6 separate regions of the Homo sapiens genome follow, and all the other regions are linked to region 3. The links are contacts of gene promoters, found by promoter capture Hi-C in blood cells and fetal thymus (Javierre and others, 2016). All regions are on one chromosome and are shown on one strand. Each heading gives the region's core, a stretch centred on a gene start or on the middle of the fragment in contact. The rest is flanking DNA. Distances are from core to core; before and after follow the strand shown. Region 1 has its middle 8.7 kb from the start of IGF2BP3. Region 2 overlaps KLHL7 (kelch like family member 7). Region 3 holds the start of OSBPL3 (oxysterol binding protein like 3). Region 4 overlaps TRA2A (transformer 2 alpha homolog). Region 5 holds the start of LOC105375187 (a long non-coding RNA gene). Region 6 has its middle 8.7 kb from the start of TRA2A.

Evidence for each region. Contacts are between HindIII fragments. The CHiCAGO score rates a contact against its expected background, and 5 or more counts as called.
Region 1: a contact is called between a fragment that was not itself captured here and the fragment with the promoter of OSBPL3 in region 3, in 1 of 17 cell types (activated CD4 T cells). The highest score is 7.6, in activated CD4 T cells.
Region 2: a contact is called between a fragment that was not itself captured here and the fragment with the promoter of OSBPL3 in region 3, in 1 of 17 cell types (fetal thymus). The highest score is 5.3, in fetal thymus.
Region 4: a contact is called between a fragment that was not itself captured here and the fragment with the promoter of OSBPL3 in region 3, in 1 of 17 cell types (non-activated CD4 T cells). The highest score is 5.1, in non-activated CD4 T cells.
Region 5: a contact is called between a fragment that was not itself captured here and the fragment with the promoter of OSBPL3 in region 3, in 2 of 17 cell types (non-activated CD4 T cells and fetal thymus). The highest score is 7.6, in non-activated CD4 T cells.
Region 6: a fragment that was not itself captured here is called in contact with the fragment with the promoter of OSBPL3 in region 3 in 1 of 17 cell types (non-activated CD4 T cells); the score reaches 5.1 in non-activated CD4 T cells.

What each region holds. Positions count from the first base shown.
Region 1 is chr7:23,476,973-23,481,499 of GRCh38, forward strand. It overlaps the pseudogene LOC389473. Among named protein-coding and RNA genes, the nearest start is that of IGF2BP3, 8.7 kb to the left of the region's middle. The HindIII fragment of the contact is 581 bases long and covers 2,891-3,471 here.
Region 2 is chr7:23,106,655-23,110,947 of GRCh38, forward strand. All of the region lies in intron 1 of KLHL7 (kelch like family member 7), which reads left to right. Among named protein-coding and RNA genes, the nearest start is that of KLHL7, 3.0 kb to the left of the region's middle. RefSeq lists enhancers at 1-292, 1-77. The HindIII fragment of the contact is 2,615 bases long and covers 261-2,875 here.
Region 3 is chr7:24,978,283-24,982,600 of GRCh38, forward strand. OSBPL3 (oxysterol binding protein like 3) reads right to left here and starts at 1,896. Exons shown (of 23, transcript NM_015550.4): 1 at 1,604-1,896. RefSeq lists silencers at 1,286-1,495, 1,546-2,055 and an enhancer at 3,196-3,365. The HindIII fragment of the contact is 2,254 bases long and covers 1,204-3,457 here.
Region 4 is chr7:23,522,110-23,526,106 of GRCh38, forward strand. All of the region lies in intron 1 of TRA2A (transformer 2 alpha homolog), which reads right to left. Among named protein-coding and RNA genes, the nearest start is that of TRA2A, 7.9 kb to the right of the region's middle. The HindIII fragment of the contact is 1,160 bases long and covers 1,238-2,397 here.
Region 5 is chr7:23,593,620-23,597,661 of GRCh38, forward strand. LOC105375187 (a long non-coding RNA gene) reads right to left here and starts at 3,706. Exons shown (of 2, transcript XR_927098.2): 1 at 3,498-3,706. It overlaps CCDC126 (coiled-coil domain containing 126), which reads left to right and starts at 3,763. Exons shown (of 4, transcript NM_138771.4): 1 at 3,763-3,986. RefSeq lists an enhancer at 123-172 and a silencer at 4,005-4,042. The HindIII fragment of the contact is 327 bases long and covers 2,165-2,491 here.
Region 6 is chr7:23,538,502-23,542,909 of GRCh38, forward strand. No RefSeq gene overlaps it. Among named protein-coding and RNA genes, the nearest start is that of TRA2A, 8.7 kb to the left of the region's middle. RefSeq lists an enhancer at 1,214-1,403. The HindIII fragment of the contact is 3,051 bases long and covers 1,578-4,408 here.

The DNA of each region.
Region 1 (4,527 bases), core at 1,931-4,430, 1.5 Mb before region 3:
AGATCTCATGACATATATTTACATACACATTAACTCTTTCTAGGCAGTCTTTAAGGTAAATTGATGAATGCCTCATGCTATCTATAAATGTAAAGTTAATTTTTAGATGTACTAAGGCAGAATCAATTTTACAATTCCTTACTTGCAAGATGATAATAGATCATAACCATTTCCATTTGGACTGATTAAAATTCATTCCTTCTTTATTTTAGTTTACATTTTGGTCCTAAGCTGCTCTCTAGCATGATGATCCTAGCTTTAAAGAGGGAAACAGCAGGCTAAGTAAGGGGTTTTTGTTTTTTGGTTCTAGTTCAAAAATCTCAGCTGAAGTTCATAAAGAATCTGAGCGCATAAGATAAAGTAGAGAAAAACAAAACTTAATCATCTTTCTCACAATCTACACTATAAAAAATTTGTCCTGAAATTCATGCCTAACATACTTCTACTGAAACATTGACTTCTTTTTTTATATATATAGAGGATTGTTTAAATATAAACACATGTATATTCTTAATCTGTGTATATTCTTAATCCCCAATGTGATTGTTGGCACTATCACATTGGGGATTAAGAATACACAGAGAGAGAGAGAGTTTTTCTTGCTTTTTCTCAACTGACTTAAATTTCATGATCAATTATTTCTAAGTTGACAATACTAGTGCCTTCTTAAAGGCAAAATTTTGTTTGAACTGAGGTTTAATTTAATACCAATAATTGGATCTGATTGATAATTTCCAATTCTTGATTGATTTTGTTTTGGTGGGTGGGGGAGGGGTCTTGTGTCATTCATTGAAGCAGTTTTTCTGTTTTTTAATACTTTTTTATTTGTAGGGTAAACTACTCATATATTATTTGTAACTTAAAATCTTTTTCCTAGCACTTTCCAAGACTTGAAGAATAATTTAAAAGTAACTAAATCTTACTTATAAGATTTGAATAAAGACTTTTTAAATTGTGTACAACTTAATATAAATAAATATGAAATATTTTGTGTTTTAATCATCCATTAAGCTGAAATAACTGCATGGTCCCTTTTTTATAAGTAGCCTAAATCTAATCCAGCTATTAGAAATCTAATTCATAAAAAAGATACCAACGAAGTAACAATTCATAAAAGCCAAAAAAATCAGTTTTTGTTATAACAGAAATAGATACTGTTTCTGTCATCTGGTGAACATTTTGTTATTAGACAATTAAGTACAGAATGACATTACCATGTTTTGTTTTCGTTTGTTCAAAATTGCCTAGAATTTTGTCCCTTGACTCTGTTACCATATATCTGATGGTAATTTCTTTGCTTTTGTATTTCTTTGCTACCAAGATTCAAATAATATCTTTGCTTTTCATTTAAATAAATATCTGTAAAAAGCCAAATAGAAAATAAACTGAAGCATCAAAAGTTGTAGTGTAGTACACTGTAAGTGCTTATTTCTGCAACCATAGTGATATATTCAAGTTTTATTTTAATCTCGTCAATATAGTGACTTTTTTAAAAAGATTAAATTGAATTTTGTTTTAAATATTAATTAAGCAAAAAAAAAGTCGAGTAGATGTTTTAATTCAATGAAATAGACAATAGGGCGAAAGGTAACATTACTCTGTTCCCTCAACAACAACAGATCTTCCAGTTGAGGGCAGTTTTGTCGGATATGGAATGAACTCAGTGTGTGCACTTGGACATATGAATATATGCACATATTTCTGCTGAGAAGCCCTTTAGAGAGATTAGTGAAGGAGAAAAGCAAGATAGAACTTGTGTTCAAATTCTGAGGTTGCAGGTTAAAACAAGCAAGGCAAGCACTACTTTTAAAGTGTTTTCTTAACCATCAGAATACTTCAGTATGATGTCTTTAAAGCTGGGGAGATAAGACTAACAAAACAGTATAGATTGAACTGAAATTACGATGCTACTAGTATATCACCATTAGAACTTACATCATATAAATGTGTTTTCCATTTTATGTCTTTCTATAACTCGTTTTCTATTTAAAATATATGTAGTTAGTATTATACATATAAAACATCCATCAACATTATTAAAACATGAACGTAAGCAGTTTAAAAATTGGTAGAAATAATACGGGTCACATATTTTGAAGTTAAATTTATCTCGAAAATATGAAGTTATCACAAATCCTTTCTGTTGGATTGTTCTACCACTTCTATTTGTGTACATTATCCATAATAGATACATTAATCAAAATAAGCAGTGTTATTTGAAAAAATGTCTCTATAAAAAAAGAGCTAAAGATAGATACTGGTCTGTTCTTGTCGTGAAAACAACAATGGTTTTTGAAACTTAAATAAGGAGAGAAAACTCAGATTTAAGTGAAGTGTGGGTCCTGTTATTTACTGTCTTTATTGGGGGTTAGGAGAGCTGAGATTAAACTGTAATGTTGCTTCAGGAATGACTACCAACAAAGTTTTAAGTTGCTATAAATGAAGAATATTATTTCAGTCAAATGATAGCCCCTTCCTGTTATTCTTTAAAATAATTATTTCCTTGTTTATTAAATATCCTTAAATTATTTCATTGCAAAGTGAGGGGAAGTCATATTGTATTAGGATAACCAAACATTTTAACACTTTGAGCCTCTAAATGGATGAAGAATGCCCATTGCTTTTTAAACAAACCAAAACAAAAACAAAAAAAAGTTTATCTTTGTTAAAATAAGTGATGCATTTATCTTCTTTCTTTACCTATGGCAATGTTCTGCTAACATAGTAATAAGCTGAGTTACTCTCTGGATGTGGCAATTAATAGAAATAAATATATTACAGTGAAGCACAGAGAGGATATATAAGCAAAAAAAATAAAAACATCAGATTTATGGAACTCTGGATTAAGCTAAAATTTAGAGTATCTTCTTACAACCAAATCCAGTGATCAAGCTTATAGTCTTTAAAACCTGTAACAAAGTAAAAACTTGAAAGTATTGTTAATATGCAGTTATTACTAATTATGATAAAAATCTATTTGTGGTTTTGTTTAATGTAACTATATAATATAAAATACAATTATTTTGTTTTTAAAGGTTTTTTCCCATGTTTCTTTTGAGTAAATTCAAAAACTTGAAAGTTAAACTGAGCCGGGCGCAGTGACTCATGCCTGTAATCCAAGCACTTTGGGAGGCTGAGGCAGGCGGATCACAAGGTCAGGAGATCGAGACCAGCCTGGCCAATATGGTGAAACCCCGTCTCTACTAAAAATATAAAAATCAGCTGGGTGTGGTGGCACGCACCTGTAGTCCCAGCTACTTGGGAGGCTGAGGCAGGAGAATTGCTTGAACCTGGGAAGCAGAAGTTGCAGTGAGCCATGTTGGTGCCACTGCACTCCAGCCTGGGCAACAGAGCGAGACTCCATCTCCAAAAAAGAAAAAAAGAAAGTTAAACTGAAGACTGTTAAAGTTGTTTTATAAAAATCAGATATCTGTGGATTAAAACATGGTCCTTTTCTAACTTTTCCATGAAAGCTTGGAATATAACCTATTAAAAGCTAACTGACAGCCAGGCGCAGTGGCTCACGCCTGTAATCCCAGCACTGTGGGAGGCCGAGGCAGTCAGATCGCCTGAGGTCAGGAGTTCGAGACCAGCCTGGCCAACATGTTGAAACCCCGTCTCGCCCTCCCCCCCAAGCTGTTTTTCTAGCATGTTGCCCTTTTTCAACCACATTTGTGTTTCAGGTGTAGAGAGGAGAGTGAACAGGGAGCGGGGCTTTTGTCTGTTGGTCTCCCTGGACTGAAGAGAGGGAGAATAGAAGCCAAGACTAAGATTCTCAAAATGGTTTATTACCCAGAACTCTTTCTCTGGGTCAGTCAAGAACCATTTCCAAACAAGGACATGGAGGGAAGGCTTCCTAAGGGAAGACTTCCTGTCCCAAAGGAAGTGAACTACAAGAAGAACGATGAGACAAACGCTGCCTCCCTGACTCTACTGGGCAGCAGTGAACTCCGCTCCCCAAGAATCAGTTACCTCCACTTTTTTTAATCGTAACACCTCCATTTGTATTACATACGGTGTATGGGTATTCATGAGGTCATGGTACCATATATGGGATTTTTTTCTGTGTAAATCATTAAGTATAAGAGGAAACTATGGGACTCTGAGCCTTGCTTTAGAGAATTTACAGTGGACAAATAGGTATCATCAAACCAGTTTTTAATCATTCTGACCCAAGTGAAAATGCTCAGAATTTCACACTGTGAATCCACGTTTACAACCCTTACAGGTGGGCCTTCAGGCCTGGTTCGCTACAACAATGTCTTCCACAACTCAAATTCCCACCGCGTTCACACAACCAGTGCACTCCTGCCTTTTCACTCACACAGCTCCCGACCGCTTCTTGCAGAGGCTGAGAGTCCCCCCCTTTTTCTTCATTTAGATGTAACAAACCTAGTAGTTTATGTTTATCAATTGTCTGTATATCTCTATATTTTATCCATGTACTCTTGATGTATAGACATAGTTTGAAACTCGTTTCCTTGTGGTAAGTGACCGAGATGCTGCCACAGGACCTGAGACACTGAT
Region 2 (4,293 bases), core at 318-2,817, 1.9 Mb before region 3:
TAATTTAGAGCAGAAGCAGCCATCGATAAATACCATGCCATCTTCTAAGGGCACTGTGCGCCTCTGTTATTAAGAGGAGCTCTTTGTTCTGTCCTTGGTGTGTGGTGCATTCGTGAAATTCTGCAGCACATCGGCGAAAGGTGGGTTATGAAAAGAACGGATTTTAACGCTGGCGAAGGTGAAACAAAGAGGCTTTTTTTTTTTTTAATTCCATAACATCTACACCGATAAGCATAGAAAGTCACTTTTTCCTTTCTGTAAGCTTTATTTATAGATAATACACATCTAAGTAGATTTGTGGGAATGTTTGGGTTTTGTTGACTGGGATCCTGTTTCAAGGGGACAAAGCAGGATGTGAGTTATGTGTAACTGCAAAACCTAGTTTGCTTTGTCTGGTGGTTCTGCTGGGAATATGGGCAACAGTAGAGGAATTTAAGATTTTTATGAAGATATTAACTTCTGGTTTCTATAAGCAAACGCTGACTGCTGGGATTTTGTCTTTGTTCACCAGCTCCTGCTACAGTGCACCAGTGCAGTCTGTGGGAATGCTTTTAAATCTTTCCTGGCCTGGCCTTTGTGCTGAAGTACTGTGAATGCCTGAATTCGTTAATTTATGTAACTGACTTTCATGTATCTATTTTCAAATTCATGTTCCTTTCATGTAAACCTTTTTGTATCTACAATACCACAGACTTCAAATTGCTGGTGCATTTAGCTATTGCCTGCCTGTAATGGTAGTTGAACATAGTTAACCAGGGCTTAAACTCGTTGAAGACTCATTAGGTTCCCTCCCACTCCCTCGAATATATGTTTTCATTCGTGGATCATAGCATTGTAAAGCATTGCCTTAATCCCTAAATAGGGTGAAACTGGATTGCAGCAGCAAATATTTACTTGAGGAGCAGAGGATTATCTGAGACTGTCCGTTTAGCTCTTTGGATTTAAAAAGTGACTCACATTTCTTAGCTTTGGAGTATATTAACATCACTTATTTACCGTTACAATAGAAGTACAATTACTGAAAAATCAGGGTTCTGTTACTGAGTAGGAAGGAAAAAATGGTTACCTGGTGAACAACCAGGGGTCCCCTCCACAATGATTAACTGACCTTAATCTGCCAGGTTCTCCTGTTGTCAGTGGTTTGGCATGTGATTCAAACAGTTCTCCAATAGCACTTTTATCAACTTCATGGAATCATGCATCTTTTGCAAGATGTGCAGTTTCACTTCGCAATTGATTTACATTATGGTTATATTGTATTGTCCTGTTTAACATCATAACACAGGAAACAATTGACCGAGAATGACTGACAAGGGCAGTTGATGGGAATTGGCAGAAACAGTGGCTGGTCTGAGCCAGAGTAGGAATGTTTGAGTGAGGACCAACTTTATAAGTGCTCTTGTTCTTTAGTAAATATTTTTGTGTTATGACTACTTTTACATCCCTTTACAATCTCATTGCTTTAAGGATCAGGATAATGAGTGCCTAGATGACAAGGACCCCTCTGTAAACATCCAGAAACATTCCTTCAAGAATTTGAGAACATTGTGAGATTAGCATACCTCAGTTCCAATCCTGCTCTCTCATTATTTCATTTTGTTATTTTAGATAACATGATTTGGGTCATTCCATCTCTCTGTAGTATAGTGGCCGATTCTATACATAGAGGCAAAAGGGGATTCTGCAGAGCCAGCAGCCTCGGCTTCTTCTAAAGCCTTTTCCTACATTGTTTTTGTCATTTCTAGCCTTTTGTTTCTAAGTAAACTCTCCAGTGAAGTATGGGATACATATAAGAGGGCACAAATCATAAATGTATAGCTCAATTATTACAAAGTGCACATCCCACCAACAAGACGAGAACATGACCAGTACACCAGAGGTCCCCCCTTATGCCCTTCTCAGTCACCAACCCCACAGTAGTAACAACTATTCTAACTCTGTAACCATCGAAGTTAGAGCAGAAGCAACCATTGATAAATACCATGCCATGCCATCTTCTAAGGGCACTATGCACCCCTGTTATTAAGAGGAGCTCTTTGTTCTGTCTTTGGTGTGTGGTGCATTCATGAAAGTCTGCAGCACATCGGCAAAAAGTGGGTTTTTCCTGTGTTTGAACTTATATAAATGTAATCATATGGCATAAACTCTTGTGTTTTGTTTTCTTAAAGCCAACATTGTTTGTGAGATTCATCTGTGCTGTGTGTAGCGCTACTTCATCCTTGTGGTATATAGTATCCCATTGAATGAATATAGCACAATTTATCCATTCTATCATTATGAACATTTGGGTTATTTCTAGTTTGGAACTATTAAGACTAGTACTACTTTGAACATTTTTGTACACTTTGTACATGCCTTTTGGTATGCATATGTATGTATTAATATTTGTGTTGGGAAATACCAAACAGGAATTTTTGAGTCATAAGCTATACCACCTTCAGCTTTAAAAGATATCGTCGTGTAGTTTTCCAAAGTGATTGTACCATGTTACGCTTCTGCCAGTTGTGTGTGAGAGAGGTTTTTGCTCCGCATCCCTGCCATCACTTGATGTTGTCAGTCTTATCACTTTAGCCATTCTAACTGGGTGTATAGGAGCATCTTATTTAATTGGATTGAGTACCTTTTCATTTATTTCTTTAACTTTTTGCTTAGATTAATGTTATTACCTGATATGTAAAATAGAGGCTTTACAAGGCAGGTCTGGGTCACAGTCACTATTGCACATGCACATTGCTGTTGCCATACTCTTCTTTTGTGTTAATGAAGTCCAGGAGTCTCTTAACATTGGAGGAAGATGTTTTAAGACCTTCCTGAGTACCACCATAGTTTATAGTTTCTCCACATTAAATGAATTAAAGCATAACTGGAACTTGAAAGCTTATGTTAAAGTCCTTATTGAGAGTTATGTGAGAGAACTACAAAGCTGATTTCACAATTAGATACTGGGCAGTTAACTGGGCTCACCTTCCGGCTAAAATGACTTTGCTTCTGTATTCTCATCTGTCTGACTGTAAATTACTACATGTCATTATCTTTAGGTTCTCTTGTGAATAATCTAAACCTTCAGTGTTAAACCCTTGATATTAATAAGACTTCTTGAGCACTTATAACTGTTCCAGCCACTCTGCAGAGTGTTTTACATGCTTTGTCTCATTTAATTCTCTTAACTTTCATTGACAATTCCAGTCATCCAGACCTTCTTATTCTTTTTCCTGTACTTTACTGTTTTCTGTTTTCTTTTTCTGTCTGTCCAGCTTAGAAGCTATTGTCACTCCACTGTCTCTCCAGTGTCCCAGTTTTCTTGACCCTCTGTCCCTTTTTCATGTCCATCTGGCAAACTTGAGTATTGATGACTGATTACCTTCTTTGTGCAAGGCTCCAAGCACAGCTGGAAAATATCTCACTGGGCAACTTCTGCCAAGTAAGTGCTTGGCCACTAATTTCCACTAGACTATCAGTGCCCGTGAGCAATCTTTTTGTTTTACTATTTTCCTCCAATCTGAGTCCTTTCTCTAGATCCTCACTTTCAGCAGATCACCTTCTTTTGACACCATAGATAAATAGAAGTCATTAGTCTAGAACTGTCTACCTTTTCACTTTCTACCACCAGATCTATAAACCTATTTTGACACTTTCCCTTTTCTCTTCTTATCCTGCTACAATGGAGATGCTGCTGCTTTTTCTAAGGCCAGTACTTCTACCTAGGCTTTGGCTTCCTGGATGCTGGGCTTCTCAGAAGTATTATACTGTTGGTTATTCCATCTTTGTTGAGCATCTTTAACTTTTCTTCTTTGCTGGATTCTTGCTATTAGCACTTAAGCTTGTTTTAACCTCTCCAGCTTTTGAACCAAACAACCAGCAAACCCATTCTTAATCTCAACATACCCCTCTAAATACTTCTCTCCCCCCATTAAGATGAAAAGCTGAGTAAATTCACTACATTTTCTTTTGTTTTTTTTTTAATTTTATTATTATTATACTTTAAGTTTTAGGGTACATGTGCACAATGTGCAGGTTTGTTACATATGTATACATGTGCCATATTGGTGTGCTGCACCCATTAACTCGTCATTTAGTATTAGGTATATCTCCTAATGCTATCCCTCCCCCCTCCCCCCACCCCACAACAGTCCCCAAAGTGTGATGTTCCCCTTCCTGTGTCCGTGTGTTCTCATTGTTCAAGTCCCACCTATGAGTGAGAACATGCGGTTCACTACATTTTCTTACTTACTATTTATTTATTACTCTAGTTCAATTTGGCTTCCAAGTTCATTCATTGAAATGAATACTTAT
Region 3 (4,318 bases), core at 646-3,145:
GAAATCCTCATTCCTCATATTTACAGAGAAGGTTTCATTTATTCATTCTATAAATGTTTACTGCAAACCTACTGCGTGTTCTTGACACAGGGGATCAAGTGATGAACAAGACAGACAAGGTCTCTGCATTCCTGGTACTTACATCCTAATGAGGGAAGGCAGATAACCCAATAACCCAAAGAGACAATTTCAGAGAGAAATTTAAGTGCTATGAGCAACAGCAAACGGGTGATGTGGCTTGGCTGGAGGGGATGGTCATTTAGCTTGGATGCATAAGAACCTAGGCCTGCTTGACTGATCTCCTTTAGCCAAGTATAGTCCTTTAGCCAAGGACCTCACCTTGTATGATACTTGCGGGGTACAGTGCAGATGATGAGAAGCCAGGCCTTCGCTTTCACCCATCTGTGGAAGTATCTCTTTTGCAGCTGTAGTTTAAAATATTTCTAAATGCCCTCATCCCAATACTCAAACTCTGAGGGTCAGAGCAACACCTAGGGGGTCTCAAGCACCTCTGCGCAGTACGCAGACACATGGAAACCGACAACTTCACAGTCCCCTCAGCTCCAAGAGTCCCGACTGAGGAGACTGGTGGCTTGTGAGGCGGAGAAGGACAAGCACAAGTGTGCAGAAGGCAGCAAGCAAGTTGCGTTGCCGAAGGAAGGGCGGCGCGCCCCTGCTTAAGAAGTATCTGGACGACCTGCGACAGTGCCCATCAGCGACTCCAGAGGCCACAAACGCTCCCCGGGAAGCTGGGCAGCGCTAAGAGGCTGCCTGGGAGTTTCTGGCTTATGATGACAGTACTTAAAGAATTTACCTGACCACGGAATAAACAGAGACAGAGGTAGGAAAACCCAACTGTAGACAACGTTCAGACAGAGTGCATAAGTCCCTAAGACCCTGAACTAAGACGCTGCAGGGCCTCCAGGAAAGGACCAATGTGAGAGACACTGAGACGAGAGTTAGGGTGAGCCTGAAGGTGATCTGAACAGTAGTAATTGGAAACTAACAAAAAAAAAAAATTCCAGAAGGGGCCAGAAAGCTGATGAATATGTAAATTCAGACAAGAAAGGAATGTGCCCTGGGCCTCCAGCCCAGCACCGGGGAGCTGAGCAAGCCGGGGTTGGGAAGGCGGGCGAGCGGAGCGCCTGCCCCGCGAGCGTTGTCTCAGTCTCTCCGGCGCGCCCCATCCCGCGGATGTGGTAAAGCTTCGCGCTCGCCCCAATTTACCAGGCTTCCTGAGCCTCTAGCCCCGGCGTAGCGCCTCCCCGCTGCCCAGGACAGCTCCGCGCGCCGCGTCCTCCCGCACCTGCGCCGCGGCCCCTGCGCTCGGCTCCTCCTGGCGGTCAATCCTCTGAGCCGTCCCTCGAGGGAAGGTGTCCTGGGGTGGGTGAGACCCGGGTCCTCCTTCCCCGGGAGCTGCAGCCGGCACCCAAGCTCCCAGGCTTGGGTCTGCCCCAGGGCCGGAGCCTCCCCGGGCGACTCGGACAGACCCCGGTCCGGCAGAGAACCGCGGCGCCCCGCAAACAGCAGCCCTTCCGAGCCCGCGCCGCCGCCAGGCCCCCCGACACCCAGGCCCCATTTAGGCGGGCGCCCCGCCACTCACCTGAGCGCTGTGCAGCCGGAGACGCTCCCTAGTTCCCCGGGGCCGGGCTCCGGGGTTAGCGCACAGAACCGGGAGAAGGCAACCCCGGCTTCTCCGGTACCCCCGCAACGTGCAGCTGACAGCTCCCGCACCGGCCGCAGGAGTCGGGGGCGGGGATGGCCACTTGCAGACAGACTGCGGGGCCGGAGCCGCGCTGCGCACCGGCCGCGAAGCGCTCAAGTCCCCTCTCCCGGGCCGGCTGGCGGGCGCCACCAGCACGCGGCCAGTTCTGAGTACTTTGCCCAGAACTTCTCGGCGCGCGCCGCCCGGCGATTAGCCCGAGGAGCCGCGCAAGGGCGGGAGCGCAGGGGAGGGGCCTGAGAGGCCCAGGGGCGGGGCCCCGAGGGGGCGGGAGGGCGGCAGAGTGATGCACAATCTCACCAATCAGAAGTCGCCTTTCGGGAAGGAGGTGGGGCGATGTCCTCGGAAGAAGCCAGCGGATTCCATGACGCGGCGGGGGAACTAGGGACCCCGGATTCCGGATGGGTTGGGAGGGCGGAGGGAGGCGAGTCCTGCGGCGAGGCACTGGGTGGGGCTCCCGGTGGCCCAGCTCGGTGCCTGCGCGCGGTAGGCGTTCGGTAAATGTTCCTCTAGTGGCTTTTCCGGGCCAGGGAAGGAGGAAAAAGTGAGGGCAGCGCGGGAGGGGCAGGTTTACGGAGAAGGCTCCAGGGGACCCTTGCGGTCGCACAGGCTAGGAGAACTCGACCTCCCGAGAAAGTCAGACTGTGGCAGAGGAGTCGAGAACAGAGGAAATACATAGGGAGGCAGCACTCTAGGCACGAGATGACAAAGGACAGCATCAGTGTGAGACCCGGGGCTCGGAGACCGTGACCCTACCTCCAGAGGCAGTCGTGCAGATTCGTGCCGGGGTGATTTTGTTCTGTGCAGTTTATGTGCAAGGGGGTAGGAGGTGGGGAGAGCACCGTCGTTACTATTAAATCTCCCTGAAAGACGGAAAAGTCCACCCGACTTGACTTCCCACTAGCCCAATGGCCTTCTTTGATCCTAGGACGAATGCAAGCAGCTGATGGTTTGGGGTCAGTTTGCAGACTGCAAATGTGTCGAGTGCCGCAGGTGGCGGGTGGGAAGGGCATGAGCATTTAGTGAGCACCTAGTATATGCCAGGAGCAGTTGCGAGCTTGCAACTGTGAGAAAGGCGCACCAGGCTCCAGTACTCACGGGGCTTGCATTTTTTGTGGAAAGACAGACAATAAAGAAGAGAAAATACATATCTATGCAAAAAATAAAAGGCTGACAGACTGTTAGTACTGAGAGGAGGGCCAAGTCCACTTTCGAAAGTGGTTTAGCGCGTGATGGGGCGCTCACCCTGAGGGCCTCTAGGCGAGGGTGGCTTTTACCCAGATTCCTGAGCCTGGGAAAGGAGCTGCCACACCCAGTCTCGCACAGAGCGTTCCAGGCGAAGGGAATAGCAAATACAGGGTATTTAGCCTCCCTGAAGACCCAACTAACCGACCTCACCGAGCTGGGCACCGCGCGTGGCTCGCTGGGCTCAGCGCCTGGGACGGAGTAAGGGCTCCACAGTGTTAAATCCCCCTGCCAACCACCACCTGCAGCGCTCGACGCATTTTCAGTCTCCAAACTGACCCCAATTCAAGGTTTCTGAGACTCTTTCCGGAGCTATTCTGTTCACATTTCATTCACCACGCTCAGATCTTCGCTTTCTGGAACCATCCCCCTCGCGAAATGTCTGGGACTGTCTGTTTCGGATCTGGCAGGCGGCGGGCGAGGGCGGGAGGCGCCAGAGATGCTGCCGAGCAAATCCACTGTCATGCTGCCCACGTCGGCACACGGAGAAGCTTATTGGAGAAGATTTCAAATCGAATGACTCCGCGGTTCCTAAACCACCTCGCAAAGCCCGACCAGCGCCAGGTGGCTGGACGGGTAGTGGAAGGACGCGTCTGGCAGGCGCGCGGACCGTCCAAGGAGGCACCTTGCCCACGCCCAGCCCCGCCGTCGGAGCAGCTTAGACTGGGTTTTCCCAAACCTCCTTCCGTCTTTCTGTAATTTCTCTCTGAGAGAGGCTTGCTCTGTCCTCCTCCTGCCAGTCCCTTTCCTCGTTCAAGCTATTTTCTTTCTTTTTCTTTTGCTCTCCACCTTCAGCCTCTCCGCCTGTTTCTTTAGCATTGGTTTTTCTGTAGGAGACAAGCCTTCAATCCGAAAGGAAGTGATTTGCATAGGGCTTTGTTGTTTAGCATCCCGTTCCGAGCTTTTTCATTAATGTCTTCCTAATCAAATAATAATAGAGTGTACATTCTCTCTCTCTCTCTCTCTCTCTGTGTGTGTGTGTGTGTGTGTGTGTGTGTGTGTGTGTGTGTGTGTACTTGAGGCAGTTAATTGGACAGGATGAGAGAATTATTCACATTGTGCCTTGTCTCCAAGTAAAGGAGGAATCGTACTGTGGCTTTTCATAGTTTCATTTCCTCTTCTACTCCTAAATAAACTTCCAGGCTCTCCAGCTCCTAAAATCAAAAGGAAAAAATAAAAATAAAAGTTGAAACCCACGCAGAGCTAATTATTCTTGAAAAAGTTTGTTAATGTTCTAAAATCAGCTTTCTCCTCAGCGTCTTATTTTAAAATAACGATTTGAATGTCTAATAAAGACCAGTGGTTCCATATTAAGAGTTCCTAGAGACCCTCTTCTTTGAACTGTTGAAC
Region 4 (3,997 bases), core at 568-3,067, 1.5 Mb before region 3:
ATAAACCATACATTTACTTAACCTAGGACCCATTCATTCTTCCAGATTCTTTTAATTCTACTTCACTCTTGCTTTCTACTTCTCTTCATTCTTCATTGAGTTTTTCATTTTTCATACTTCGTGTATTCTTCCCCAATTCAAACAATTCAAAATAGCCTTAAAAAAATATTCAAGTGCTTCTATCTGACCAATCTTCTGTTCAATTTTTTCCCCCATTCAATTTTAATTTTCTGATCTTTAATACTTTTCATTAGCCTTCTTTTATCTTGATTTATCTTCCACATTCTTGGAAAAAACTCTTCAATTTCTTCACGAACATTAACCTTAATGGAAAAAGAACATTTAGTATATTTAAGCACGTGGGGATTATAAAACTCTGCTGGAGTTCAGAATGTTATCTACCAAATGGAAAAGCCAGCAGGTAAAGTGCAAGTAACTAGTTTATTTAAAAAAAAAAAAAAAAAACAATTTTATAGTCTTTAAAATTGTTCAAAACTCTAGTTTCTAACAAAGAGAATTTACTAAATTTCTCTAAATGCTTTTTAAACCATACTCTTCACCCTCCTCCCATGTTTCATTCTAGTTCCTAAAATGTGAGCAATTTTAATATAATTCAAATATAAATCTAACAACTATAATTTCCCCCCACCTAAGTGTTAAATTTTCACTACTTTATAATCTGAAGATTCTTAAAAATAAGCTTTCACTAAGTCATGCTAAGAAATCAAGATATAGTTAGAGCAAGGCATCCCAGGCTGAAATATTTGTACACACCTATCTAAACTCACCCATAGCACATGTCAAGGTTCAAATAAGTCAAAAAGAAAAAAATCAGTAAAATTACACCTTCTCCCAACTTTGACTACTATCTTTGCTCATTCTGACTTAAAATATGTTCTGAAGACAAACATACCGAAAAAACTAATAAGCATGAAATTCTTAAAATTTCCCCATTAGCTTATTAATTCCTGATATACACATTTTTGCAACCAGATCACTTTAAAATGCTCTATTATCCACGACATACCACAATGTGCAAGAAGGTACAAAATTTATATCATAGTCTTTATCTTTGATTCCATCTCTTTAGAATTATGTTCAGTTTTTACATAATTTATGCATTTATGTATACTGGTACTCCCTTCAGTGACTATATTCTATATCCAAAAAGTGATGGGTTTCTGAAAAAATTGGGTGTAAATCAAAGCATTCCAAATAAAATAACTTACTGATCATAAGCTTGTTTTTTTTAACTGCACAGATATGAGGCACTTATGATCAAAACAGGATGGACAGCTTGGTTTCTGTGTCCAGTTAAGCCTTGATTATCAGTGTAAATAATTATCTCAATTTCACAGAAGTAATTTCACACCAATTTATTTATGCCTTAAGACTATCACACAACTCAAACAGCTTTCTGAAAACTTTTCCTTTGCTTCAAGTTTAATGTCAAGACTTATTTATCAAGAACTGTACAAATGCCACCTGGTCATTTTCTTTCAGATAAAAACAAAACTGAAATACACAGCTACCTTTCAGCTCAATACCAACCTTTCCCATTTAGCTACCTACAAGTCTTTCACTGCATCTCAGATACTCTAAACCACTCAACAGATGTCTGGAGCAGGCATAGCAATCTGGGCTTTTTCATTCACTGAAACTATGAAAGCAGCATATTCAGTATCTTATAAAAAAAGGCATGGCTAATTTGCTTGTAATTTAAGTTTCACAGACTGGTTCATTAATCAAACTCATAAGAGTATCTTCCCCTCTTCTCTTTTGGCTTTCCTTTCCACAAAACAGACCCTGTGACATAACATTCATTTATGCTACTGTTGAATAGCAATAGCTGGATTATTATCTACGAACGCTGCTACAGTCCTTCTCAAACATACACAGGAGGCTTTGCTCTGTAAAACACTACAATTCTTTAATTTTACTAGGATGGAAATAAAAACCTTTTATTAAAGTAAACAAGATAATTCAGTAACATCTTAAAATTCCAATTTTAAATCCCAGTTTTGGAGTAGCAACAAAGCATTATGGTATGATAGAATGTCTTTTTAAGAGATGTTAGCTTATTTATTTTAAGAAGGAGGAGTCTCATTCTGTCACCCAGGCTGGAGTGTAATGGTGCGATCTAGGCTCACTGCAACCTCCACCTCCTGGGTTCAAGTGATTCTCCTGCCTCAGCCTCCTGAGCAGCTGGGATTACAGGCATGCACCACCTTGCCTGGCTAATTTTTGTATTTTTAATAGAGATGGGGTTTTCCCATGTTGGCCAGGCTGGTCTCAAACTCCTGACCTCTAGTGATCTGCCCGCCTCAGCCTCCCAAAGTGCTGGGATTACAGGTGTGAGCCACCGCGCCCGGCCAACATCAGATTTATTTTAAAAGAAGCTTTGCTTTTTATTATCAAAGGTGTCACAAATACCTAACCTCCTTTGTTGTCTGCCCTTCTTTCTTTTTATCTCAGAGGAAATCTCAGTCTGCACAAATTTCTTCATGGAAACATCTAAGCTAAAAACAGTCCTCTTAGCTGTCTCTAACTCCTAGCTACAAAGTTGTCACTATGATTTTAACTATTTTTTTTTTTTTTGAGATGGAGTCTTGCTCTGTAGCTCAGGCTGGAGTACAGTGGCACCTGATCTCAGCTCACTGCAACCTCCGCCTCCCGGATTCAAGCGATTCTCCTGCCTTAGCCTCCTGAGTAGCTCAGCTTACAGGTGCACGCCATCACACCCAGCTAATTTTTGTGTTTTTAGTAGAGATAGGGTTTCCCTATGTTGGCCAGGCTGGTCTCCATCTCCTGACTCCTTGATCTGCCCGCCTTGGCCTCCCAAAGCGCTGGGATTACAGGTGTGAGCCACCACACCCAGCTTCATTTTAACTTTCAAAAACAACTTACAAACTTATATTAACAAATCAGTAACTATTAGTAAACTTAACTGGAAGAATAAACTGCCAAGTATATAATTATTTAGAAATAAAGTAACATTTCTCAAAAGCTGTTACCAAATAAATGTCACTTTCACTGAACTCTGCATTAGGAATCAGGCTATAAGAAGTCCTTTATATAAAGAGGACAAATGCTAGGCTAATCCTTTTCTCTCTGACTCGTCTTCATTATGAAATAATTTCAACTTTTTCTCAAAGAAATTCATAAAACTATCCACAATTTGGAAAATGAATTGAAATTGCAAACAAAAAAGATTGCTGGGAATGGGTGGTATCTGCCCTGTTTCACTAGACTACTTGTTCTTAAAGCTGTCCAGTCAAGGAATCCTACCATTTCCTCAGTAATCTGGCTCCTGCATCCAATAACCATTAAAAATACACTGCCCGGTTTAAATGGGCAGATTAATAACTCAACTCGTATCATGAATTTTAACAAAAGTCTTAAATAGGCCTCCAGTCTATCTTATAGGCTATAAAGCAGAAGCCAGGCAGAAAAGTTCTTCTCACAGCACAACCTGCTTTAACAGGTTTTTGTTTTGATGTTTATTTGCTTGTTTGGTTTTTCTGTCACCCAGGCTGGAGTGCAGTGGCACAATCTTCTCATTGCAACCTCCAACTCCTGGGTTCAAGCAATTCTGCCTCAGCTTCCTGGGTAGCTGGGATTACAGGCACCCGCCATCGCACCTGGCTAACTTTTGTATTTTATTTTAGTAGAGACGGGGTTTCACCACATTGGCCAGGCTGGCCTCGAACTCCTGACCTCAAGTGATCCACCCGCCTCAGCCTCGCAAAGTGCTGGGATTACAGGCATGAGCCACTGCACCCGGCCTGCTTGTTTAAACTATTCTTTATTATCAAGATGACCCTGCTGTTGGTTGAAGGAAATGGCCAAAAATTAAAAGGAGGGAACTAACTAAAACACTAAGAAAGTGTTATAGTGTAACCAATACAAGCTGGTTAAGAATTGTCTTTCTGTGTTAAAATAGAGTTGTATTTTACACACTGTGAATAACCACAATAACCATGTACTATTCTTTTAA
Region 5 (4,042 bases), core at 1,078-3,577, 1.4 Mb before region 3:
GCCAAGGATAATTTCAAAACAATTATGTAATGCCCCTAATTTTTCCTGTAAAAACCTTTGTCTTCCTTTACCTCCTTGAATACACACATAGTTTACTGTGGCATGTGTATTCCCATTGCAATGCCCTATTCCCAAATAAACATATTTTTCTTTTAGAGAGCCTCTCTCTGTTGTTTAGGTTGACACAAATGGTGCCAGAAACAGGACCTGAAAAAAGATCACTATCACAAGGAACTGACAGTTCTTGAATCTGGTGCAGTACTCATTTCAGTTCTCTGCTTCCATGGCTCACTTTTTCTGCCCTGATGAGTCTTCTCTAAGACCACGCCCCCTTCTTTATGGTAGAAGCTCTTGACTTTATTTGGGGTCTGATTTGAATAAGGCAGCCCTAAATAAAGGACTTTACATCCCTCCTGGGATTAAACAAAGACTTTTTGTATTTTCTGGGAAGTCTTTTCTGATTTCTACAGAATTTCCATTCTGTCTGTGAGGCATATCTTTTCTGATGAATTTACTTTTGGTCTGTGTGCCTACTTTAATATTTTGTCTGATCCACATGCCTGGGTTAAAATTTTTATGAACTTTCTTGGTTTTATTTTGGTTACATGCAACTTTTTTGTTGTTCTTTTCCCTTTATGTTGCTCTTTTCCCTTGCTTGTTTCTGAAAATCTTCTGAGAGCAAAAATAAACATTCTTTTAGAATGGACACATTCTAAATGATGGACACAGGATGGCTAAGTAAAAGCCACTAGAGTGGTTGCTACCATCAAATACATTGGTCCAAACTTATGACATTCTGACAAGATTGATAATTTTCTTTGCTCTTGAGAGATTGATAAGTAATGTAATGGGGTTTTCTTAATTTTTCTTTCTTTCTTTTTTTTTTTAAGAAACAGAGTCTCACTCTGTCTCCCTGGCTGGAGTTCAGTGATGCAATCATAGATCATTGCAGCCTTGAACCCCTAGGCTCAAGTAGCTAGGACTACAGGTACACGCCACCATGCCCAGCTACTTTTTTTGTTTTGTTTTGTTTTGAAGAGACGGTGTTTCACTATGTTGCTCAGGCTGTCTCAAACTCCTGGCCTCAAGAGATCCTCCTGCCTTAGCCTCCCAAAGTGTCAAGATTATAAATGTAAGCCACTGTACTCTGCCTGGGATTTTCAAACATTAAGGCATGCCAAGTTTTCTGGGACTCCAACCAGCTATATTTGATGGCCCATTCTCATGCACACTTAAAAAACTGATGGGTTTATGAAACGTTACAACAGGTCTCACTTAATCCTTCATGGTCATTTCATTTATTCAGCTGGTTAAGCCTAGGTTCATGGCTCAAAACTATTAAGCAAACTGAGATTATCATTTTACTTTATATTTTTCCTTTTTTAAACTTTGTATCTGTTACTTGTTAAATTTTTGCAGAAGTATAGGTCTTAACAAAATAATGCTGGGCCAGCACTTTGAGATGACAGCCAAAGACTATAGACCTCAATAATAAACTCCAGGTAGACTTAGCCTGAGAGCCATTTTCTTCAAACCTCCCTTATTGCCCAAATATGGCTTAATGGTTTTTGACACTGACTCATCACCAATCACTCCCCACAATGAGGGAAGAAACCAGCAACCAGGACAGGTTCAACCTGGCCTCCAGGGACATCAGAATGTAACTACAAAATGACTGATCAGTGATGCATTCTGAGAAAGCTCTTGATCAAAAAAGGGAAATGTGAAAATTGTCAGAATCAAAATGGAGTCACTTGTGTTAAAAACAAAACACCCTGACAGAGCTGGGGAAGGCTAAGAAGGGAAGGCTTTCACATGTGTATACCTGATAACTAAACTATTGCAAAAGACTCTGCAAAAACCACAACCTTACATAAAGACCACTGCAACCTTACACAACAAGTACTTCTGTGTGGACATCTGCCCAGCAACTGCCTGTTGAACCTAGAACTGGAGTCACCCTTATTATTGATCCTTGTAGCCAAGCATAATAATTTCAAAGCAATTATTTAATCCTCCTCATTTTTTCTTTGTCTTCCTTTACCTCCCTGAATACACACAGAGTTTACTGTGGCATGTATATTCCCATTGCAATGCCCTATTCTTAAGTGAGTGTCTTTTTCTTTTAGAGGTCCTATTATTTAGGTTGACAGCTTTAAAATAAAGCTTGTTTTTGTTTTGTTTTGTTTTGTTTTTGAGGAAGAGGCTTGCTGTCGCCCAGGCTGGAGTGCAGTGGCACAATTATGGCTCACTGCAGACTCCACCTCCTGGGCTCAAAGTGATCCTCCTGCCCCCAGCCTCTTGAGTAGCAGGGACTATAGGTGCATGCCACCACAACTGGCTGACTTTGGTATTTTTTTGGGGGGTACAGATGGGGTTTTGCCATGTTGCCCAGGCTGGTCTTGAACTCCAGGCTCAAGCAATCCACTTGCCTCAGCCTCCCGAAGTGCTGAGATCATAGGCATGGGCCACCGTGCCTAGTCTATAATAAAGCTTGTTATCCGGTAGCACAAGTTTTCCTCCTCCCACTCCTTCTCCTCTTCTTTTTTTTTCTTCCTCCTCTTCCTCATGAATGCTTGTCTTTGCTCTTCCATAACATTTTGAATTAGCTTGTCAAGTTTCTCACACATACACAGAAATTTATTGAGATTTTGTTGGGAATTGCACTGGCTCTGTAGGTAGGTTTGGAGAGACTTGGCATTTTTCAGTATTGACTCTTCCAATTTATGAACATGTTACATCTTTATTTAGGTCTTCTTCAGTGTCTTCCAATGTTTTCTTCAGGCAGGTTTTGCATTTCTTTGATCGATTTATTCCTAGGTACTTGATATTTGTTTGGAGCTGTTGGAAATGGTATCTTTAAAAAAATTATCTTTTTTACTAGCATATATAAATAAATATTGATTTTTTAAAATATGATTTTTGTATCTATTAACCTTGTTAAAAACTTTTATTGTTAACAGTTTATCTGCAGATTGTTTTGAAGTGCCACAAACAATTTTTTTTTTTTTTTGAGACGGAGTTCTGCTCTTGTTGCCCAGGCTGGAGTGCAGTGGCGCGATATCAGCTCACTGCAACCTCCGCCTCCTGGGTTCAAGCAATTCTCCCGCCTCAGCTCCCCGAGAGGCTGGAATTACAGGCGTCCGCCACCTCGCCCTGCTAAGTTCGTATCTGTAGTAGAGACGGGGTTTCACCATGTTGGCCAGGCTGGTCTCGAATTCCCGACCTCAGGTGATCCTCCCGTCTTGGCCTCACAAACTGCTGGGATTACAGGCATGAGCCAACGGCGCCCGGCCTCCACGTACATAATTACATAATCTATGAAAAAATAATTTTGTTTCTTCCTATTTAATCTTCAATCCTTTTATTTTTCTTGCCTCACTCCACTGGCTAAGGACCTTTGGCTTCAATAATGGGTAGTCTCATCTGTAGCACACTTAATCATCACTAAGCTTTCCCAGCCTCAGGTCAATAGTATTAGGAGGTTGGTTCCTCACCGGAGGGTCGGGAACAAGACGCCAGAGCCCTTCTTCCAGCGCCTGCAGCGAGTTAAGGCCGAGGGTATGCCTCTGGCGGGCTCATCTTCCAACACAGAAGACCCCGCCGCCCTCTCTGGTTGCCGCGCAGCTGCGTCGTTCTGACCCAGGGTAGGTGCAGGGCGGCTGGAAGCACGTGCCGCCGCTTCCTCATTCTGGGACTACATCCCCCACAATGCCGCGCGCCGCGGGCGGCTGGCCCCCGAGTGCGGGAAGGGCCGGCAGGGAGGCGGAGCGGAAGCCGAGTGCGAGGGACGAGCGGAGTAAAATCTCCACAAGCTGGGAACAAACCTCGTCCCAACTCCCACCCACCGGCGTTTCTCCAGCTCGATCTGGAGGCTGCTTCGCCAGTGTGGGACGCAGCTGACGCCCGCTTATTAGCTCTCGCTGCGTCGCCCCGGCTCAGAAGCTCCGTGGCGGCGGCGACCGTGACGAGAAGCCCACGGCCAGGTAATGAGTAAGGGGCGAGTCCGCCAGCCGGGCCCGCACCTCTCGCGCGCCCCTCA
Region 6 (4,408 bases), core at 1,853-4,352, 1.4 Mb before region 3:
TCCTGGGCTCAACTGATCCTCTTGCTTCAGCCTCCCAAGTAGCTGGGACTACAGGTGTGTACCAAGTGGCACAATTGCCTCCATTTTATAGATTTTTTTTTTTTTGAGTTGGAGTCTTGCTCTGTTGCCCAGGCTGGAGTGCAGTGGTTCACTGTGATCATGGCTCACTGCAAGCTCCGACACCCGGGTTCACACCATGCTCCTGCCTCAGCCTCCCGAGTAGCTGGGACTACAGGTGCCTGCCACCACGCCTGGCTATTTTTTTTTTTTTTTAGACAGAGTCTTGCACTGTCGCCCAGGATGGAATGCAGTGGCATGATCTCGGCTCACCAAAAGCTCTGCCTCCTAGGTTCATGCCATTCTCCTGCCTCAGCTTCCCGAGTAGCTGGGACTACAGGCGCCCGCCACCACGCCCAGCTAATTTTTTGTATTTTTAGTAGAGACGGGGTTTCACCGTGTTAGCCAGGATGGTCTTGATCTCTTGACCTCGTGATCCGCCCGCCTTGGCCTCCCAAAGTGCTGGGATTACAGGCGTGAGCCACCACGCCTGGCCACGCCCGGCTAATGTTTTGTATTTTTAGGAGAGATGGGGTTTCACCGTGCTAGTCAGGATGGTCTCGATCTCCTGATCTCGTGATCTGCCCGCCTCAGCCTCCCAAAGTGCTGGAATTACAGGCATGAGCTACCGCACCCAGCCATTTTATAGATTTTTAAAGCTGAGGCGGAGAGTAGTAAAGCAACTTGCCCAGGTGAGTCAGACAGCTGGCACAAAGCAGAACTGGGGATTAAACTTGGGTAGATTAACACTCTTAACCATTAGGCTCCTGTGCCTCCCAGCAAGCCACTGGCATTACAGATAAAGAGCTCAAATGAGCAGACCTAAGTTTAGTCTCCAGTCACTCAAAAATTACTTGTTTTAACCAAGAACTGAAGTGCTGATATTGTACAAACTCTTGCATGAAAGTAAAAACAGATACACTGAACAGTTTATATTAATGATTTCACGATGCACCAGGCCAAGCCAAGAAGGTAATTGTCTCACAGTGGTAGTTTTTTTTTTTTCAACGTATACAGCTTGAGCTTTTGCTTTAAACATGTGCACATCTGCACATGTGCATTTCTTCCTTTTGACCAGCAAGCAGAGAGATACCTCCACACCACCTGAATATCCATTTGCCCATCAACCATTCAGTGGGTTCGGCATCCATTGAAAAATCTTTGCCTGAATCAGCCATGCTATTCAAAATGTGGACTTTCCAACTCTATCTTGTCCCTATATTCACCAGCTGGCAATCTTCTAGTAAATAGTTTCGTTTTTCTTTGTTTTGTTTCTTGCCCACTTCCTCTCTCTGCTCAATAGTGTTTTTTTTTCTTTTCTTTTCTTTTTAAAGAGCTTTCTCCATCAACTACAGGTTATTTGACTATTTTGAAATACAGTTCCATCGCTTCTCAGCCTTTTAGCTAGGATCACATGCAAAATATAGTTCCTACTGGAAATGATAAATGCTTAATTATTTCCTTTAATTGCCAATTTCAGAATAAGGTGTTTGTAAAACAGCTCCAAAGGTGGAATATGAAGCTTTTCGATGATATAACTGAAAGGGATTTTCACTTAGAGTCCCTTTCCACTTACATACTGTGGTGTTATGATATTCTTGTACCCATTTTCGTCCAGGTTCCTGGCTGATAACTCCCCATAGGCCTTGTTACAGTCTTTTGTTATAATGTTAGGTGTGTTAGGCTTCTTGCAGGCCTCAGGCCTCTTTGACCTTCTCCTCTACTCCTTTCACTTGACCCAAGGCAGGACTCAATACTATTCCCCTGCCTTTCTGATTGTGGGTCATAAGACCCTCATTCCAGAGAGGCCAATCACATTTCCAAATAATTGTCCATAAAAACCCAGGAGGACTGGGTTCACAGAGTTTTCAGATAGCTAATACTTGGAGGTTCCTGGAGGGTGGCTTGCCCAGGGAGGGCATGGAAGCTCCACACCCCTTCCCCCATACCATATATTTTGTAATGTTTCTTTGAGTTTTGTGAGCTGCTCCAGCAAATTTATTAAACCCAAAGTGGTGGATGTGGGAATGCCCAAAGCACTAGGGTTATAGGCATGAGCTATCTCTTCTTTTTAATATTATTACTGTTATTTTTTGAGACAGAGTCTGGCTCTGTCTCCCAGGCTGGAGTGCAGTGGCACAGTCTCTGCTAACTGCAACTTCTCCTCCTGGGTTCAAGTTATTCTCGTGCCTCAGCCTCCCGAGTAGCTGGGATTACAGGCGCCTGCCACCATGCCCAACTAATGTTTGTATTTTTGGTAGAGACAGGGTTTCGCCATGTTGGCCAGGCTGGTGTCAAACTCCTGACCTCTAGTGACCCACCCCTGGCCTCGGCCTCTCAAAGTGCTGAGATTACAGGCATGAGCTGTTGTGCTCGGCCAAAAATATATTTTGTGGCCTCCCCAGTACCTCAAGCCTGTAATCTCAGCACTTTGCAAAGCTGAGGTGGGAGGACTGCTTGAGCCCAGGAGTTTGAGACCTGGGCAACAAAGTGGGACCCTGTCTCTAAAAAATTTAAAAAATTAGCTAGGTGTGGTGGTGCATGCCTGTGTCCCCACTACACAGGAGGCTGAGGCAGAAGGATCACTTGAGCACAGGAGGTCAAGGCTGCAGTGAGCAGTATTTGTGCCACTGCACTTCAGCCTGGGTGACAGAGCAAGACACTGTCTTAAAAGAAAAAAAACAACCAACCAACAAACATTTTATCACCTCAAGCACTCAGAGTAGAACACAACAAAATTAACCCATAGCATTTAGCCAGTTCTTAGGAACTAGATCTCAACACTGAAAGAGAGAAAGATCAACCACATTCAAAGAGAAGATAGGTAAATTAGAACATCAAAATTTACAACTTTTGTGCATTAAAGGATAATATCAACAGAGAGAAAAAACAATCCACTGAAAAGGAGAAATATTTAGAAATCATATGTCTAATAAGGGTCTAGTATTTAGAGTAAATAAATAACGCTTACAGTTTAAGAAAAAACAAGCGGCTTGGCGCAGTGGCTCACGCCTGTAATCCCAGCACTTTGGGAGGCTGAGGCGGGCAGATCACAACGTCAGGAGATCGAGACCATCCTGGCTAACATGGTGAAACCCTGTCTCTACTAAAAATACACAAAAATTAGCCGGGCATGGTGGCGGGCACCTGTAGTCCCAGCTACTCAGGAGGCTGAAGCAGGAGAATGGCGTGAACCCGGGAGGCGGAGACTGCAGTGAGCCTTGATCGCGCCACTGCACTCCAGCCTGGGCGACAGAGCAAGATTCCGTCTCAAAAAAAGAAAAGCAAAAACAAGCCTGGGCAACATAGTGAGACCCCTTCTCTATTAAAAAATTTACTTATTAATTATTTATTATATTATTATTTATTTTATTTTTTATAGAGACAGGGTCTTACTATATTTCTCAGGCTAATCTCAAACTTCTGGCCTGAAGTGATCCTCCTATCTTCGCCTCCCAAAGTGCTGTGATTACAGTCATGAGCCACCATACCCAGGCTATATCTCTTCCGTAGGGAGAAATCTACTGAAGTCCTTTGTTCATTTTCTAATTGTTGGTTTTTTTTTTCATTTTTTATTTAATTTTAAAAAATTGTTAGCTTTTGTTGCTGTAAAATTTTTTTTTCTTAGTTTCTTGTTTTGTTTTTGTTTTTTGGTGTTTTGGGGGCACAGGGGCTTGCTCTGTCACCTCATAGCCCACTGCAGCCTACAACTCCTGGCCTCAAGCAATCCTCCCACCTCAGCCTCCCAAAGTGCTAGAATTATATATATATATATTTTTGTAATTAGCTGGGTATGTTGGTGTGGGTCTATAATCCTAGCTACTGTGGGAGGCTGAGGTAGGGGGATGGCTTGGGCCCAGGAATTGGAGGCTGCAGTGAGCTACAGTGGCAGCACTGCACTCCAGCCTGGGTGACAGAAGGAGACCCTGTCTCTAAAAAAAAAAAAAAAGCAAGATGATATATAAATGGCAAATGAACATATGAAAAGATGCTCAACACCATGAGTCTTAGAGAAATGCAAATTAAAACCACAATGAGATACCACTTTACACCTACTAAGATGGCTACTATAACGTTGAAAAAAGAACAATCAATGACAGGTATTGAAAAGGATATGGAGAAATTGGAATCTTCATACACTGCTAGTGGGAATGTAAACTGGTGCACCTTCTCTGGAAAGCAGATGGGCAGTTCCTCAAAAACTTAAACAGAGAATTACTGTATGACCCAGCAATCCCATTCCTAGGTATATACCGAAGGGAAACATATGTTTGTTCACATGAAAACTTGTATGCAAATGTATATAGCAGCATTGTTCATGATAGCCAAAAAGTTGAAATATTTCAAATGT